Regions from separate parts of the Homo sapiens genome. Here regions 1 and 2 are each linked to region 3. Evidence: promoter capture Hi-C in human tissues and cell types (Jung and others, 2019). All regions are on one chromosome and are shown on one strand. Each heading gives the region's core, a stretch centred on a gene start or on the middle of the fragment in contact. The rest is flanking DNA. Distances are from core to core; before and after follow the strand shown. Region 1 has its middle 19 kb from the start of TEKT1. Region 2 has its middle 4.2 kb from the start of MIR4520-1. Region 3 holds the start of XAF1 (XIAP associated factor 1).

The links. The method cuts DNA at HindIII sites, captures the fragments that hold promoters and counts their contacts. A contact is called where the count stands out against the background at its distance.
Region 1: a fragment that was not itself captured here is called in contact with the fragment with the promoter of XAF1 in region 3 in 3 of the 25 tissues and cell types used here (neural progenitor cells, small bowel and spleen).
Region 2: a fragment that was not itself captured here is called in contact with the fragment with the promoter of XAF1 in region 3 in 5 of the 25 tissues and cell types used here (IMR-90 fibroblasts, liver, lymphoblastoid cells and 2 more).

Annotation. Positions count from the first base shown.
Region 1 is chr17:6,849,026-6,852,331 of GRCh38, forward strand. No RefSeq gene overlaps it. Among named protein-coding and RNA genes, the nearest start is that of TEKT1, 19 kb to the left of the region's middle. The HindIII fragment of the contact is 4,954 bases long and covers 1-3,306 here.
Region 2 is chr17:6,657,960-6,661,375 of GRCh38, forward strand. It overlaps the pseudogene ALOX15P1. Among named protein-coding and RNA genes, the nearest start is that of MIR4520-1, 4.2 kb to the left of the region's middle. The HindIII fragment of the contact is 8,121 bases long and covers 1-3,416 here.
Region 3 is chr17:6,754,308-6,757,888 of GRCh38, forward strand. XAF1 (XIAP associated factor 1) reads left to right here and starts at 1,739. Exons shown (of 7, transcript NM_017523.5): 1 at 1,739-1,803. The coding sequence starts at 1,772. RefSeq lists an enhancer at 1,396-1,915. The HindIII fragment of the contact is 6,790 bases long and covers 1-3,581 here.

The DNA.
Region 1 (3,306 bases), core at 209-2,708, 94 kb after region 3:
GGCAGATGCCCCTCCCCATACCAAGCTCGAGCATCTCAGGTTGACTTCAGACTGCTGTGCTGGCAGCAAGAGTTTCAAGCCAGTGGATCTTAGCTTGCTGGTCTCCAGGGGGGTGGGACTCGCTGAGCAAGACCACCTTGGCTCCCTTGCTTCAGCCCCCTTTCCAGGGGAGTGAAAGGTTCTGTCTCACTGGGGTTCCAGGTGCCACTGGGGTACAACAACAACAACAAAAAACTCCTGCAGCTAGCTCAGTGTCTGCCCAAATGGCCACCCACTTTTATGCTTGAAACCCAGGGCCCTTGTGGTGTAGGCACCTGAGAGAATCTCCTGGTCTGCTGGTTGCAAAAACCGTGGGAAAAGCATAGTATCTGGGCTGAATAGTACAGTCCTTCATGGCACAGTCCCTCATGGCTTCCCTTGGCTACGGGAGGGAGTTCCTGACCCCTTGCACTTCCCAGGTGAGACGACGCCCCACCCTGCTTCTGCTCACCCTTCGTGAGCTGCACCCACTGTCTAACCAGTCCCAATGAGATGAACTGGGTACCTCAGTTGGAAATGCAAAAATCACCCATCTTCCTCATAGGTCTCGCTGGGAGCCGCAGACCGGAGCTGTTCCTATTTGGCTATCTTGCCAAGTTCCCCCTCATTTTCTTGAATTACAGCTTTTAGTATTCTTTCTGATCCTTTGCTTTGGTTTTTGTTCATCTTTCCGTTGTGCTTTTGTTTTGTGTAATGATATTATTTTGCCCTTTATTGTCTCTTTTCTTATAGTAACTTTGTATGGGATTTGACTTCACTACTTTTCTACTGCCATTTTTATGTGAATTTTGTTTTCCATGTTAATAAAAAGAAGCTTGTTCAGATAACACATCTAACTTCTTGGATCCCCATCCATTTTTGTTCTTGTAATGTTCAAAAACATGATGGCCTGCTTTTGGAGATTTCCTGGCTTTGTTTCCCCACCCTGTGCTTTTCTGGATCTTTTCTTTCATTTATTTCAGTTGAGTTTTTCCAAGGGTTTCTCTGAAGTGTTCCGCTCCATCCTGGAAGACAGCCTTGGCTGACCAGTTTCAGGAGTTCCCGTAGGTCCTTAGATCTTATCAACTGTGCCTGGCACCTACTTGCTATTACAGTGGTGATAGGCTTTGGATCTGTGTCCCCTCTAAATATCATATCAAACTATAATCCCTATTGTTGGAGGTAGGGCCTGGTGGGAGGTGACTGGATTGTCGAGGAGATTTCTCATGAATGGTTTATCACCATCTCCTTGGTGCTGTTCTCGCGCTAGTGGGTGACTTCTCCTGACATCTGGTCGTTTAAAAGTATGCGACACTGTTTTAGTCTGTTCTTGCATTGCTATAAAGAAATACCTGAGACTGGGTAATTTATAAAGAAAAAATATTTAATTGGCTCATGGTTCCACAGGCTGAACAGGAAGTATGATGCTGGCATCTACTTGGCTTCTGGGAGGCCTCAGGAAACAAAATCATGATGGAAGGTGGAGGGAGAGCCACATGGCTGGAGCCAGAGGAAGAGAGAGAGAGGGGAGAGGTGCCACACACTTTAAAGCAACCAGATCTCATGAGAACTCTATCATAAGAACAGTACCAACGGATAGTGCTAAACCATTCACGAAGGATCCACCCGCATGAGCCAATCACCTCCAACCAGGTCCCATTTCTGACATTTGAAAATTACAACTTGACACAAGATTTAGGTGGGGACACAGATCCGAACCATATCAGGCACCTTCTCCCCCTCTTCCTTGCTCCTGCCTTCAGGATATGATGTGCCTGCTCCCCCTTTGCCTTTTTCCATGATTGGAAGCTTCCTGAGGCCTTCCCAGAGGCAGAAGCCACTATGTTTCCTGTACAGCCGGTAGAACCATGAGCCAATTAAACCTCTTTTCTTGTAAATGAGCCAGTCTCAGGTATTTCTTTACAGCAGTGCGAGAATGGCCTAAAACAAATGGGCATGTTCCCTCCTAGTTCCAGCTGTTGTTCCCAAATTGGCCTACTACAATTTTACCATTTTCAGGTTTGTCATATGTCCTGTTGTTTTCTTCCAAGTTCTCTTGCACAGGTGAGATGTGGATAACACATAGGTCTTATGGCTGTTGGTGGTTTGTCCTGTTTTGGAGTTTGCAGGGATTACTTGTCTAGCTTTTTGTAAATGTGATTCATGAGTATTTGATTTTGCTATCTAGTTCTGTCTGTTTTTATGTGGATATCCAGGAAGATCCAAATTCTATGCTGCCTCCACTGAAACTGTCTTCCCAGAAATGTATTACTTTTTGTCATTAAAAAGGAGGTATAGGAAGATTAATCTATGCACTGCATTTGGAAAGGTGTTTGTTTGTTTGTTGTTTATTTTTAGGTTGCAGTGATGGCAGGGAGCCAATGTTGATTTCTGATATGGGAGGATGATGATCAGAGCTGGTCATCTGAAAGATTAACTTGGCAGAAGTTTGAAGATTGAAGAAAAGTAGTGGAGTGAGAAGGCCAATTCTGACAGTACATCAGCAGTCCAAATAGGAGATGATAATGAGGGAAAGGTGAGTGGGAAGGGCAAGGAAAAGACAGCTGTGGGGAATTCAATAAACGCTGAATCAGTGGCTTGGTGGTGAGGGAAGGATGAAGAAGAGTTAGAAGAATCAGAATTGACTGAAAATTTGTAGGATGAATGTCTAGGGGAATAATATTACCCAAAACACCAGTGTAGATGAGGAAAATGATATGGTGACAGTAATAATGAGGGGTCAGAGGGAGAGCAGTGACTAATTTTTTTTTTTTAATTTGCATTTCACTAGCTGGAGGTACCTCAAGAAAAAGATGTTGTGTGTGAATGTGCAGGGCTGAGGGAAAGGTCCATGCTAGACACACAGATTTGAGAGTCATCTGCAAAGTATACTCCAGGAAAGATAGAACAAATGGCACTATATATCCACAGAAAACTTAGAAACACTATTCCTGAAATAAAGATTGCCTTTGCTCATTGAAAATGTTCACAGTGTTTCAAGTTAACAACTAGTAAAGGACCAAGAGCAAGAACTATCCTCAGGAAAATACTGGCTATAAAAAGAAAGACCTGAAGCTCTATGTGTACAAGTGGTGCTTGTAAATTTTTCTGAGTAGTCTGGTGGTGATTATTGGGGCATCCCCAGATATTGATATTTGGAGATATTTTCTCTGGGGCAATTCAGAATTTTTTTTTTTTTTTTTTTCGAGTTGGAGTCTCGATCTGTCGCCCAGGCTGGAGTGCAGCTGCGAGATCTCTACTCACCACAAGCTCCGCCTCCCGGGTTCA
Region 2 (3,416 bases), core at 693-3,192, 96 kb before region 3:
ACTTTAAGGTTTCGCTGGCCAAAGGGTGAGAGCAAGGGGAGGCTGGGTGAGAGGGAGGTGTCCTGGTCTAGTGGAAGCCAAGGGGCTTATGGGCTGCACTGCACTGCACTGGACCGGCTCAAGGTCGGTGCCTGTGGCTGTCATGTTGGAGTCTCAGAATGATGCTCAAACCCTTTGCCCCATTCTGTCCTGAAGGCTGGCCGACCTCACTATCAAAAACTAAATGTTCTGACGCTGGGCATGGTGGCTCACGCCTATAATCCCAGCACTTTGGGAGACTGAGGCGGGCAGATCACGAGGTCAAGAGATCGAGACCATCCTGGCCAATATGGTGAAACCCTGTCTCTACTAAAAATACAAAAATTAGCTGGGCGTGGTGGCACGCGCCTGTAGTCCCAGTTACTTGGGTGGCTAAGGCACAAGAATTGCTTGAACCCAGGAGGTGGAGGTTGCAATGAGCCAAGATTGCACCACTGCACTCCAGCCTGGTGACAGAGTGAGACTCCATCTCAAAAATAAAATAATGTTCCGACTTGCTAGAATGATCTGAATGACTTCAACCAGATTTTCTGCTGTGGCCAGAGCAAGCTGGCTGGTCAGTCCCCCACCCCAATATGTCTCCCAGGACGCTTACCCCCAGATCCCACCCAACCCAGGGGAATTGAAAGAAGCAGGGTGGGGAGACCAGAGACTTGGGTCCCTCTGGTGGGCTGGAGTCAAGGGGGCATGGTTGGTGGGGTTGGAAGGACCAAGAGCTCAGATCCCACAACTTGCTCAACAACTGCCTTCCCCAGAGCGCGTGCGGGACTCCTGGAAGGAAGATGCCTTATTTGGGTACCAGTTTCTTAATGGCGCCAACCCCGTGGTGCTGAGGCGCTCTGCTCACCTTCCTGCTCGCCTAGTGTTCCCTCCAGGCATGGAGGAACTGCAGGCCCAGCTGGAGAAGGAGCTGGAGGTATGGACATCAGAGCCCTGAGGAAGCTCAGCAGTGAAGTGGGGTGGCCTAGTGCCAATGATGCTGCTGCGGGACCCACTGTGGGCCTGGCTTGCTGCCAGCCAGCAAGGACGGATTCTGCAGGAGAGGTCCTGAGGGACCCTGGAGAAGCTCAGCTGCTCGGCCTCCTTCCCACACGAGAGTAGCTGTGGAGGGAGGGCGTGCAAGATGGAATGGTTGATAGAAACAGGGTCAAATGAAGAAATGTGACTGGCCCCTGGTGCTAGGGATTCGGGGAGTGTGCAGAGTAAGAGAGTCAGGATCAGAGTGCTGTGGCTGTTCATCAGGAGGCGATATGGAACAACAGAGAGGAAATTCATGGGATTAAGGGCAGATAGGCTTGGATGTGAATCCTGGTTCTGCTATTTGTAAGCTGTGTGACCTCAGGCAAAATACCCAGCCTCTCTGATTATCTGTTTCCTCTTCTGTGCAACTGAGGCTCGTTCAACTAGGTATAAAAATTATAAGGCTGGGCACAGTGGCTTGCACCTGTAATTCCAGCACTTTGGGAGGTCGAGGCAGGAGGATCACCTGAGCCCAATAGTTGGAGACCAGCCTAGGCAACGTGGTGAAACCCTGCCTCTACAAAAATACAAAAATTAGCACCTGTAACTTTTGGTGTAGTGGCATGCACCTGTAGTCCCAGCTATTTGGGAGGCTGAGGTGGGAGGATCACCTGGGCCCAAGGAAGTCAAGGCTGCAGTGAGCCATGGTGGTCCCGCCATGGCACTCCAGCCTGGGCAACAGAGTAATACCCTGGCTCAAAAAATAAACAATGATATGAGGCAATAAGCACATGATCCATTACCTGGTACAAAGTAGGTGATGGAGACAAGTTAGCTTCTCTCTCTCTCTCTCTCTCTCTCTCTCTCTCTCTCTCCTCTCTCTCTCTCTCTTCCCCCTTGGAGGAATCCGAGTGGGAAGAAGATGCTTTATGTTGATAGCAGCCTTTGACCTCTTCCTGCACCCAGGGAGGCACATTGTTCGAAGCTGACTTCTCCCTGCTGGATGGGATCAAGGCCAACGTCAGTCTCTGTAGCCAGCAGCACCTGGCTGCCCCTCTGGTCATGCTGAAACTGCAGCCTGATGGGAAACTCTTGCCCATGGTCATCCAGGTGAGAGGACTCAGGATTTCTGCTCCCAGTCTCCAGCCTTCTCAGCTCAGCCCCTTATCGAAATGCACTAAGCACCATCTTCAAAGGCGCTGGGCTAAGGCACCAGGGAGACGCGAAAGGAGGAAATGCGCCAAGTCTCTATTCGAAGGCCTTGCAATGTAGCTGGAGAGACACATAGGGCTAGTCTGCAGAAGCTCCGGGACTGAGGAAGTCCCGGAGGACAGAGACAGCCCAGGAGGGATCGGGGAGTTGGGATGTCACCAGCCTTGGAGGAGGGCCAGGTCTCAGACAAGCAGGAGGGAGAGGAAGGACCAGTCCTCAGGGGCAAGACAGACTGGGCAGAGGCTAAGGTAGAGGAGTCAGGAGATTCCTAGGGGACAGTTGGACTGGGGCCAGACTAAGCCAGGCTAAGGAGCATGAAGTGGGAAGCTGGAGAAGGCTGTGATGAAACATGCTATAGGCACGCGGTGTGGGCAGTGGTGTTTAGGGTGGGTTGGAGAGGGGAGATGCTAGAAACAGGGACTGGGGCAACATGCCCCAGCACTGACCCCAGGAGGAGGGGAGCTCGGATATGGGTAGTGACCGTCGGGATGGAGAGGACCGGTGGATGCGAGTGCAGAGGGAGATGAAGGAGAGGGGAAAGGGGAGCCAGGCCAGGTGCCTGCAGAAATAGCACCAATAAAGAGAACAGGGTGCCCAGGTAGACTTTTGTCTGGCCAATGTTGAGGTAACGGGAAGACATTTAAATTGTCCAGCAGGCAGCTGAGAACAAGAGATTCAGTCATTTGTGTAGAGGTGGGGCCAAAAGATGAGATTTCGAAAAACAGTGTGGGATGGAGGAAGCAGGTGGTTTGAATCTTGTCCACAATGCGGGGACTGAAAGGGGAAGTGGAGGCTGGAGGAGGCACCAGAAGAGCAGTTTCTGCAGAATGCTGGAGGCAAAGCAGCTTGCAGGGTGCTAATGCACTGAGCTGGTAGGAAGGGGAGGGGAGGAAATGGGAGCTGTAGGGAGAGGCAGGAGTGGGATGGGGAAAGCAGAACAGGTTTGGAGGACGAGGTTAACATGCAAGGGGGGCGGGAATCGCTGAGTGCCGGGCACTCATGCCTTCTCTCCCCACACTTGTCCCTGCTCCAGCTCCAGCTGCCCAGCACAGGATCCCCACCACCTCCCCTTTTCCTGCCCACGGATCCCCCAGTGGTCTGGCTTCTGGCCCAATGCTGGGTGCGCAGCTCTGACTTCCAGCTCCGTGAGCTGCAGTCTCATCTTCTGAGGGGACACTTGATGGCTCAGGTCATTGTTGTGGCCA
Region 3 (3,581 bases), core at 489-2,988:
CCCGAGTAGCTGGGACTACAGGCACCCGCCACCTCGCCCGGCTAATTTTTTGTAGTTTTTAGCAGAGACGGGGTTTCACTGTGTTGGCCAGGATGGTCTCAATCTCCTGACCTCATAATCAACCCGCCTCGGCCTCTCAAAGGGCTGGGATTACAGGCATGAGCCACCGCGCACAGCCCTTTTTTTTTTTTTTTTTTTTTGAGACAGAGTCTCGTTCTGTTGCCCAGGCTGGAGTGCAGTGGTGCAATCTCGGCTCACTGCAACCTCCACCTCCTGGGTTCAAGCAATTCTCCTGCCTCAGCCTCCTGAGTAGCTGGGATTATAGGCAAGCACTACCATACCCAGCTAATTTTTGTATTTTTAGTAGAGACGGGGTTTCACCATGTTCGTCGGGCTGGTCTCGAACTCCTGACCTCGTGATCCGCCCACCTCGGCCTCCCAAAGTGCTGGGATTACAGGCATGAGCCACCAAGCCAAGCCCACTCGTTTTTCATTCTTGATATTGACAGACTGCCCAGAGACAGACAGGAGTGGGTAGTGAGGGTCAGAAGGATTAAGGAGCTTGCCTAGCCGATGAGGAAGGGAACAAGATAAGATGCAAACCTCAGTCTCTGACTCTCAGCCAAGTGCTCACTACCCCAACTAGCTGTCAAATGAGGTGGATGGGGCCTTGGTTAGGTACATAGACACCTGAGTCATATCAACCTGGTGTGAATCCCAGCTCTGATGTTGAGCGATTGGCCTAGCCTCTCTCTGCCTCCATTTTCTCTTTTTTCATTTCATTTTTCTTTTTTGAGGCAGAGTCTCACTCTGTCACTGCCTCTGTTTTCCATAGCAAAATGGAGTTAATAATGCTTACATGAGGGATTAAAACGAAGACAATGCCTACCTAATGCTTAGAATGGTGCCTGGAACATAGGAACAATGTTGAAACAGTCTTTCATTCTTCCCTCCTATCACTGTGATCATCAGTACCACCACACACTGCTTCTCATTTAGTGCCTGAATTTTAGAGCCTGCCTGGAGGCTGGAGCCCTGCCTGGACATTTCCCTTAATCTTGTTATCCTCCTCAGAGAGGCGGCACCCACCCCATTGGCAGACGCCACGGGAATTCTCTGGGCCTGCTTGTCATCACTCCAGATGTTGTTTAGAGTTCTTCTGTTAGCACAGCTGTTTCTAGGGTCTGGAAAAACTCTAAGGACCCCCAGGAGGATACACACCAGATTGGGTCTGGGCTCACACCACCCTGCATCCCCAGAGCCTCCCTGGACGCTGTTTGCAAGGTCCTCACCGCCTGGAAGTCCAGGAGCCATTTTTAGGGAACAGCATTCAAGCTCAACATGGCAAGTTCCCTCTTTCCTGCAGGGGAGGACCAGAAGGGAGCCGGAGATGGGGGAGAAGGGTGGGAGGTGGATGGTTTGGAAAAGGGATGGAGACCCAGACGGAGAGAAGCCAGCCAGCCAGGGTGAGGGAACAAGCTGCTGTGCTGCCCAGGAGAGGCCTGGCCTCAGGCTGCCAGCCTCAGGGAGGTAGATGCGGCTGTGACAGCAGCAAAGAATGACGGCCAAGGGCGACAGCAGGGGCTGGCCATGCTGTAAAGGGGCTTCTTGGGAGGGTCCAGCCTCAGGAATCAAGGGGAACTCCTGAGCCGAGAATTCTGAAGATCTCCTCCCTCCCTGAAGCTGTGGGCTGGGCCATCGGAAAACTTTCAGTTTTGTTTCCTTGCCTGCAAGAAACGAAACTCAACCGAAAGCCTGCAGAGAGCAGAACATGGAAGGAGACTTCTCGGTGTGCAGGAACTGGTAAGAAAGTGCTTTCTCCAGCGGCAGACCCGGGCTGGCGAGGGAGAGACGTAGACGACATAGGGCTGTTTCTGAAGGGAGCAGAAAGTGGTTCCTGCATAAGAACACTTAGGAGGACAAGCAGCTGGAGACCGTGGGCCCCAAGGGTAGGAGGGTTTAAACTTGGTAATCTCTGGGTGGGGGTGGGCAGCATTACCTCCACTTCACTGCAGCCCCTTTCCCCCAAATGTTAGGCTTTCTGGGACAGTTCTGAAGCCAAATAGCCCGGCCAGTGGTCCCAACTGGGCTACTCATACTTGTGAGACCTTGGGTCCTAATTTGGGGTTCTGATACTATGACCTTCACACCCATCTGTGAAAGAAAGTGTCCCACGGAGATTCTCCAGGACTACTCTCACCCTCCTTGGAAAGGGAGCCGTGGGGCGGGGCAGGGGGGACAGAGCAGGGGGCTGGGACCACACCTCTAACGGGAGGGGGGGCGCGGAATCTGACCGATCAAAAAGCCCCATTCTCAAAGCTCCCTACCTGTGACAGGGACCTGAGTGGACCCTCCCCAGAGAGCTTTGCTCCAGCCAGACCCTTCAAGTACTCTGGTTTCTCAACCAGCCCAGGAAGAGCAGGGGGAGAAGGGGCCAGGTCAGGCAGAGGAGAGAGAGCAGAGGAAGGGAAGATGATGCTGCCTGTGTGCCCGCTGCCTGGGCAGAAGAGGAGTGAGGCTTTGACAGTCCCTCTCGGAGCACGTCCCCTGTGCCAGGAACATGGGCATGTAACTCTTCTCGTCCCCTGGGCCTTTACGGCTACAGCCACCCCATTTCCCTTCTCCCAAGCTGCCACAAGCAAGAGCTGATGGAAATGAAAGGAGTCATTTCTTTCTTTCTTCTTCTTTTTTTTTTTTTTTTAAGATGGAGTTTCGCTTCTTTTTGCCCAGGCTGGAGTGCCTGGAGTGCAATGGCGCGATTTCAGCTCACTGCAACCTTCATCTCTCGGGTTCAAGTGATTCTCCTGCCTCAGCCTCCCGAGTAGTTGGGATTACAGGCGTGCACCGCCATGCCCGGCTAATTTTGTATTGTTTTAGTAGAGATGAGGTTTCACCATGTTGGCCAGGCTGATCTCTAACTCCTGACCTCAGGTGATCCACCCGCCTCGGCCTCCCAAAGTGCTGGGATTACAGGCATGAGCCACCACACCCAGCCAAAAGGGGGCACTTCTTGGCAAAAAGGACGGTTAGAGAAAAATGCCCTGCCCAGGAAGTGGGAGGCTCAGAACCCTTCCTTCACTGTGGTCTCCAGGAAGAACCTCGGAGTCTCTGTGAGTTAGCGCAGGTGAACCTGAAGGCAGGGGAGACTTGGGAAGCTCTCGCTTTGGAGATTTTGGAAGTTGGCATGGCCCTGGCAGGAAGCGTGAGCCTAGCAGGGCTGCGTTCCTAACACTGTGGACCAAACAGGGGCACCAGAAAACAAGAAAAAAGATTCAAGAGAATTTGGCACTTCTCTCAAATTATTTAAATTGAAATAATTTAATTATTTACATTATTTAAAATGAAATGTTTCATTTTAAAAACAGCCTTATAGAGGTATAATTGACCTACAATAAACCTCACATTTTAAAGGGTAGCAATTGATAAGTTTTGGCCTAAGTTATATACATCCATGAAACACCATCCCCGTAATTGAGATAATGAAGCTTCCTGTCACCCCAAAAGCTCCCCATGCCCCTTTGTAATTCCTCCCTCCTGCTCCTTCCCATGCCCTGCCCCAGCAATGTAAGAGCTCTGTAGAT